2 separate regions of the Homo sapiens genome follow, and region 1 is linked to region 2. The links are contacts of gene promoters, found by promoter capture Hi-C in blood cells and fetal thymus (Javierre and others, 2016). All regions are on one chromosome and are shown on one strand. The core of a region is centred on a gene start or on the middle of the fragment in contact, and the rest is flanking DNA. Distances in the headings are between cores, read along the strand shown.

The links. Contacts are between HindIII fragments. The CHiCAGO score rates a contact against its expected background, and 5 or more counts as called.
Region 1: the fragment with the promoter of OR5K2 here is called in contact with the fragment with the promoter of OR5K4 in region 2 in 3 of 17 cell types (naive CD8 T cells, activated CD4 T cells and total CD8 T cells); the score reaches 7.1 in naive CD8 T cells.

Annotation. Positions count from the first base shown.
Region 1 is chr3:98,495,637-98,499,933 of GRCh38, forward strand. OR5K2 (olfactory receptor family 5 subfamily K member 2) reads left to right here and starts at 2,045. Exons shown (of 1, transcript NM_001004737.1): 1 at 2,045-2,995. The coding sequence starts at 2,045. The coding sequence ends at 2,995. The HindIII fragment of the contact is 17,047 bases long and covers 1-4,297 here.
Region 2 is chr3:98,352,448-98,356,593 of GRCh38, forward strand. OR5K4 (olfactory receptor family 5 subfamily K member 4) reads left to right here and starts at 1,407. Exons shown (of 1, transcript NM_001005517.1): 1 at 1,407-2,372. The coding sequence starts at 1,407. The coding sequence ends at 2,372. The HindIII fragment of the contact is 1,273 bases long and covers 1,158-2,430 here.

The DNA of each region.
Region 1 (4,297 bases), core at 795-3,294, 140 kb after region 2:
AACTGGTTACCATTTAGGTGTTTAAATTTTTCACTATTATGAGTGAGATTATAATGAACATCATTATATGTACATATTTTCTGAAGTTTTAGTTATTTCTTTTTGATGCATTTATTTTTACTGATCAAAAGGTATGAACCTTAAGAGTTTCTTTAATCTATTACCAAATTATTTTCTAATGATTACACCAATTTATACATTTACCAGGAATGCAATTAGGTTGCCATTTTACTATATTCTAGATAACGCTCAATATTATCAGTTTTTTAATCTTATTTTCATATACAAAATAAATATAGCTTCATAGGTGTTTCTGAATGGTGTTTCTCTGATTAGTAATAAAATCAAACATTTTTAATTTACTTAAAAATGTTTTTTTCTTTGAGATTTTTCTATTCCTGGGCTTTACCTATTTTCTAGTAATTATTCCTACTCATTTGTATGAGATCTTATAGCAAAGGTACAGAAACTTTATCAAATTTACTGCAGATAATCTCCCAGTTTGACATTTTATTCATAATTTTTTGATACGTAGTTAGACAACCGAATATATTTTTAACTCAGGATTTCTCCAATTGCTTTTAATAACATTAATTTCTTTATGCACATAAGTAGTTTTACTCATAGTATCACTAGTAACATAGGAGGCTTTTTGGTTTTGGTTTGGTTTTTTTGAGACAGGGTCTCGCTGTGTCACCCAGGCTGGAGTGCAGTGATGCTATTATGGCTCACTGCAGCCCCCATCTCTCAGGCTCAATGAATCCTCTCACCTCAGCCTCCCCAGTAGCTGGCACTACAGGAGCATGTCACAATGCCCTGGTAATTTTATATACTTTATTTTTTTTTTTAAGAGACAGGGCCTCATTATGTTGCCCAGGCTGGTCTGGAACTCCTGGATTCAAGTGATGCTCCCTCCTCAGCCTCCTGAAGTGCTGGGATTACAGGCATAAGCCACTGTGCTCACCAGACTTTTTAAATGCAGTGTTTTGTTTTTTCTCCCAGCTTCCATCCATAACACTTTTACTCCCCAACTCCCAGGAATATAAATATCTTATAAATATTCCCTTTTCCCCCAGAGCATCTTATTTTTAAGTGTATATTCCACTAGTATTGGAGATAGTAATTTGCTGAAATAGGCAGATGAAAATAGTATTTTAAAAATATTTTTATTGGGGTAAATTATACACAACATAACTTTTATCATTTTAGTCATATTTAAGTGTACAGTTCAGTAGCATTAAGTGCATTAATATTGTTGTGGAATGATCACCATCATTTATCTCTAGAACATTTTCATCTTCCTAAACAGAAACACTGTACCCATTAAACAATAGCTCCCAGTAGACCCCTTCCCCTGGCAACTACCATTCAACTTTCTGTCTCTGTAAGTTCGACTACTCTAGCTTTCTCATGTAATTGGAATCATACAATATTTGTCCTTTTGTGTCTGGCTTATTTCAATCAGCCTTATGTCCTCAAGGTTAATCCATGTTGTAACATGTATGAGAATTTCAATCCTTTTTAAGACTGAGTAATATTCCACCACAATTTATTTATCCATTCACCTGTCCATGAACATTTGGGTTGTTTTTACGTTTTGGTTATTGAAGGTAATGCTGCTGTTAACATTAGCATACAAAAATAGTCTTTTAAACACATTGTTAACCACTACATATACAAACATTGAAATCGGGAACACTGGTACCAATTACTGACACTTAAATTACGAATCAGCTTTACCTATACTATATGGAGAAGTTCTGTGCTCTCAATATTTCTCTCAAGACCTCAAAAGTCATCCTTGTGCACCCAATCAGATATTTTTTCAAAATATGATAGAAACATGTTCAACCAATAGCCACAAAAGTAGTAGCCTCAGGAGACTCATTCTCGCAGTGAATTGGGCATGCACCAAATTCCAGGCAAGATGAGGAGACATTGTGGAAGATGCTCTCCTTCTTTTAAGCCAAAGAGACGTCAATAATTGTGGCATATTATTAATTAGTGCCTTATTCCTCTACAATTTTTTTCAGAGAGGTCAGGAATGGTTGAAGAAAATCATACCATGAAAAATGAGTTTATCCTCACAGGATTTACAGATCACCCTGAGCTGAAGACTCTGCTGTTTGTGGTGTTCTTTGCCATCTATCTGATCACCGTGGTGGGGAATATTAGTTTGGTGGCACTGATATTTACACACTGTCGGCTTCACACACCAATGTACATCTTTCTGGGAAATCTGGCTCTTGTGGATTCTTGCTGTGCCTGTGCTATTACCCCCAAAATGTTAGAGAACTTCTTTTCTGAGGGCAAAAGGATTTCCCTCTATGAATGTGCAGTACAGTTTTATTTTCTTTGCACTGTGGAAACTGCAGACTGCTTTCTTCTGGCAGCAGTGGCCTATGACCGCTATGTGGCCATCTGCAACCCACTGCAGTACCACATCATGATGTCCAAGAAACTCTGCATTCAGATGACCACAGGCGCCTTCATAGCTGGAAATCTGCATTCCATGATTCATGTAGGGCTTGTATTTAGGTTAGTTTTCTGTGGATTGAATCACATCAACCACTTTTACTGTGATACTCTTCCCTTGTATAGACTCTCCTGTGTTGACCCTTTCATCAATGAACTGGTTCTATTCATCTTCTCAGGTTCAGTTCAAGTCTTTACCATAGGTAGTGTCTTAATATCTTATCTCTATATTCTTCTTACTATTTTCAGAATGAAATCCAAGGAGGGAAGGGCCAAAGCCTTTTCTACTTGTGCATCCCACTTTTCATCAGTTTCATTATTCTATGGATCTATTTTTTTCCTATACATTAGACCAAATTTGCTTGAAGAAGGAGGTAATGATATACCAGCTGCTATTTTATTTACAATAGTAGTTCCCTTACTAAATCCTTTCATTTATAGTCTGAGAAACAAGGAAGTAATAAGTGTCTTAAGAAAAATTCTGCTGAAAATAAAATCTCAAGGAAGTGTGAACAAATGACATCTATCCTAGCTTAATGGTTTAATGCTCAAAAAACTTCTAAATAAAATTACACAGAGGAAGTGTACTAATTGTATACAAAATATTAAAACATATCAAAATACAATCAAATTAAGCAGAAATATGTGACAGGGAAAATTCATGGAAAGGAGTGAACTGTGCTAAATATTTACTCAGAATTTAAAAGCACATGCAGACATTGAATTCACTCAAGCAGCAATGTAGAAAGCCACCATGCCTATAGACTGTGTTAGTATCAATGATGATCAACACCCAAAACAACAGCAAAACTACCAGTTACAAATATAAAAAGCCATACCATTTACAAAGCGGGCTTTGATAACCAGCCCACTCTATAGCTTACAACATGTGCATTACAGTTAAGTGTTTAAGATCATGTGAACAGTCAACCAACGAACTCACTTATATCCATGAGCAACAAAAATGGCAAGTGAATTTTGAGGAAGAAAATGTAATAGCATGTGGGGGACATTATTGTAGTTAGAATGAGGTAGTCAGGAAGTGATTGTGCCAATAAAAGTGAATATTATATTTCCAAATAGAAGTTGTTGTTAAATGATTTAAACATTTAAATAATTAAAATCAGAATGTCAAATTTCAAGATAGGTTACATTAAGTTTTATTTACTCCAAAACCTACATGCATAAAGATACCATATCATAAAGTTCTAGACAAACATTTCAAACTTCATGTAGATCTGAAGAGCCTTCATTGTCAGTGAGTTAGGCTAAACTTCTCTGTGCCCATTCCTGAGAGGTGAGGAAGGGGTTAAACAATGGAGACACAACCTTTGGGTATATTATATACAGACATGTAAAAAAGTGTGATTGTGGGACTGTGGACAGGGCTTATCTCAAATATTTTCTTTTATTCCTTCACCATTGCAAAACTTAAAGTCGTTTAATATGGATAGAACCTAATAATCTTATGTGACATCATTAAAGAGATACTTTCCAATTATTCACTCTACATATATTTATTGAGATTCTGCTATGTGCAAGCACTGTTCTAGATGCTGAGACATATTAATGACCAAGACACCACTCTTTTCATCTTCTTAAATAATAGAACATTGCCATTATTTTAATTACTAACTTCTGGAACAAGGAGGACCCATAACAAGTAACAGAAAAATTCTCCCTTCCACCTCCTCTCTTGATGCTCTGTGGTCACATCTAAATTTCCAGAAGGCAGTTGTCAGATTGCAGTGGGCCTCAAGCTAGCCAGCCACCAGAGGCTGGCATCACATGGAAAATCAGCATGCTGAGTCTATATAGAAAA
Region 2 (4,146 bases), core at 157-2,656:
TTCACTGGCCGGGCGAGGTGACTCATGCCTGTAATCCCAGCATTTTGGGAGGCCGAGGCGGGCGGATCGCCTGAGGTCAGGAGTTCGAGACCAGCCTGACCAACATGGTGAAACCCCGTCTCTACTAAAAATACAAAATTAGCCAGGCATGGTGGCTCATGCCTGTAATCCCAGCTACTCGGGAGGCTGAGGCAGGAGAAGTGCTTGAAACTCTGTCTCAAAAAAAAAAAAAATGTGCTTTGAATTAACTATCGTAGGCTCTTCTCCAAAATTGTCTGTTTGGAGTATGCTAAGGCTAAAGACTTTTAGAAACTTCTAAAAGAAAAGAAAGTTAATTTTATTATTCTTTAAAACTCAAATTGTTTCTGTACCTGAAATATTTTAATGTACAGTTGCCAAACTATAAGAACTATATAATAAATTTAGTTGATCATTAAACTCAAATAAATATATAGCCAGTAAAGAGTAGATAATGAGTTTGTAAATTTAAATAAATTTAAAACTCAAGTAAATAAATGGAGAACCTCCATAGAACTCACTGAAAATGAAGACATTACTTTCTATGAGAGATGTTTGAGTGAATACAAAATAGATATTTACCATGAAGAATATTCACATTATGAGTGGAGATTTTGCCACCAAATCTTACAATGTTGGACATGCATGTAAAACTCTTAAAACTAGAGACAGAAAGTATTAGGATAAGTGAGCAATTAAGAGTAATAACTCCTTGGGAAATTTGTCATACCAAGATTGGAATAGTATCTAGAATATGTTGAAATGAACATAAAAATGATATCCAATACAATGATTAAGAACACTCATAGATGTTTCATATTCTTATCCTCTCTAAAAGGATGAGTAGATATCTCATAAAATATGCAATTGGTGACCTTATCTGGAAAGGGTTACTAAGCTAGCAAAAGCATTCTTCAAATCACTGTGTTTCTGTGCAGTTTTTAAAATGTAGACATTTAAAATGCCTTAAGAGTAATTCATTTTAAGCGTCACATTGATCCAATAGGATACGATTTAAAACTTGTTTACTTTTTCCTGGAGGAAAAGATACCATAAGAAAATGTCTTAATTTTGGAAATGGAAAATTATATGTACTGACCACAGATTTTACATCGGCATAGGATAATTCATGCAGATAAAGCTTTCCTGCCCTAGGAATTCACACAGATATTTTCAGACAAGCCCTGGGTACACAATCCATGATACATTTTTTCTCACTTGATTTGACCCACAGTGAGTGTGCTAGTGTTTAGGAGATGGCACAGGATAATTTGAAGAAGACTTTCTTCCCTTTTGTATACAGGGAAATTAGAGGGTGAGAATTAGAAACATTCTGCTTTGGAATCTTACATTTCTTTACAATTTATGTCTCAGAAGAGAAGCCAGGAATGGCTAGGGAAAATCACTCCTTAGCAGCTGAATTCATCCTCATAGGATTTACAAATTATCCAGAGCTGAAGACGCTTCTGTTTGTGGTGTTCTCTGCCATCTATCTGGTCACCATGGTGGGGAATCTTGGTCTGGTGGCATTAATTTATGTAGAGCGTCGTCTTCTCACACCAATGTACATCTTTCTGGGCAACCTGGCTCTGATGGATTCCTGCTGTTCCTGTGCTGTTACCCCCAAGATGTTAGAGAATTTCTTTTCTGAGGATAGAATTATTTCCCTGTATGAATGTATGGCACAATTTTATTTTCTCTGTCTTGCTGAAACCACAGACTGCTTTCTTCTGGCGACAATGGCCTATGACCGCTATGTGGCCATATGCCACCCACTGCAGTACCACACCATGATGTCCAAGACGCTCTGCATTCGGATGACCACAGGGGCCTTCAAAGCTGGAAACCTGCATTCCATGATTCATGTAGGGCTTTTATTAAGGTTAACTTTCTGCAGGTCTAATAAAATTCACCACTTTTTCTGTGATATTCTTCCACTGTATAGACTCTCCTGTACAGATCCTTCTATTAATGAACTAATGATATATATCTTTTCAATACCAATTCAAATCTTTACCATTGCTACTGTCTTGATCTCTTATCTCTGCATCCTTTTGACTGTTTTCAAAATGAAATCCAAGGAGGGAAGAGGTAAAGCATTTTCTACCTGTGCATCCCACTTTCTCTCTGTCTCAATATTTTACATTTGTCTTCTCATGTATATTGGACCATCTGAAGAAGGAGATAAAGATACACCAGTGGCAATATTTTATGCAATAGTAATCCCATTACTAAACCCTTTTATTTATAGTCTGAGAAATAAGGAGGTCATAAATGTTCTTAAAAAAATTATGAGGAATTATAACATTCTTAAACAAACTTGCTCTATAGCAAATTTATTTTTAATTTATTAAAATGCTTTCATAAAGAGGGAACATAGAAAAATTAATATGTGATTTTACACAAAATGTAAGCTTATAAATCATTAGGCTATGTTTGTTTAAAAAATATATCAATGGAATTTCAAAATTGTTTCACAAATCTTTATCCAAATCCCACAACCAGAATGAATCGGGGAAACTCACTGGTAACTGTTATTACTACCTTTCATGACTCTCATGGAATTGTCAGAGAGTATTATCCTAAACCTCAATTAATCAACATAGCATGAAAGTTAAATGTTTAAATGTGTAGAAGAGTCTTCTTTGATTAATGTTTCCTAGTTAATGGAAGACATTATATCCAATCCTATGTAGCGTGTTTGAAACATTTAAAATTTCCTGGCAGAAAAGTGAAATGATAGTTTTCTTTCAGAAAACTGACCTGAGAGACACATGTGGATTACTTTAGAGTGGAAAAGACTAGAAGCAAACTAATTGCAGTAATTTATATTTAAGGTAATGAAGTTTTATTTAGATAAGATTGCAAGAATGAAAAAAAATGAAAAGGAACACACACACACATACACAGACATATACAGACACAGACACACACATACACACATGCAAAGAGGCTCACCTACAAAATATTCTATTTTGCAGAATAATTAATTGTGACTTATAACAAATTGGACAGAGTAGATTAAGGTCTACTTTAGCCAGAAGCATAATTAAGTTCCTTTTCATTCTTGAAGGCATCAACCATGTTATTGGCTATGTATTATATATAACTACAGTTTACATATTAACACTCATTAAACATTTTAAAACATATTAATAATGACATTGTTTTATTTTTGAGTAATGGTAAGCTGTACCAATATTTTATGTGTTTATTGACCATTTTTACTTTTATGAATTGTCATTTTTGTTTTGTCTGTTTTATTTCTTATTTATATCATTGTTTACAGAGAAAAGACATCACAACTATTTGTGGCAAATAATTCTTCTGTGGGTTGATAGTCTTAGTATTTGTTTCTGATATTTATAAATATTTTAATTTAATATACTCATATTTACTTATTTTTTCTATGATCTCTTTCATGCATTTCATCCAGAATTTCTTTTTTAATCCAGTCTACTATTAACCAATATTTCTTTTTCTCCTTTTCTTATTTCTCTTCTTCTCCTTCTCCCTATTTTCCTCCTCCTTCCTTTTTTGATATTTTAAATTTTTGCAACTTGACTCTTGATTCTTCCTGGAATTTATTTAGTATATGGCATATTAAAGATATAACTTTATTTGGCTGTTTCTCTAAAAAATATTTATAAACTAATTTAATTCAAATAAACACTCAGGAGAACTTCTTTGGGAACCTGGCAAAATGAATTTAAAATTTTTTCATATTCTAGATTTTTCTAGAAAATAAAAAAAATACCTTATGTGTTATATATTAAAATATATGATAAAATTCCAATAATGATAACAGTTTGGTTTTAAATCAAGAATCAATAAACAAACCAACAGAACAAATCAGATTGTTCAAAAGTAAACTCTCATATAAAATAAGAAGGGCATCACAAATAACAAGGAAATAAAGGATTGTTCAGTAGCCGTGGGACAACTGGGTAACTATCTCTTCCATTCATGTTAAAATGTATATCTTCCTGTCATTTAGATATATATTTGTAGACAAAATTTGTATTTCCTTCATTTTTCATAGTTTGATTTTTAATATACAGCAACCAACTGGAATTTATTTTATAATGTTATAAAGTGAGAATTAAAATTTGATTTATGGCTAACCAG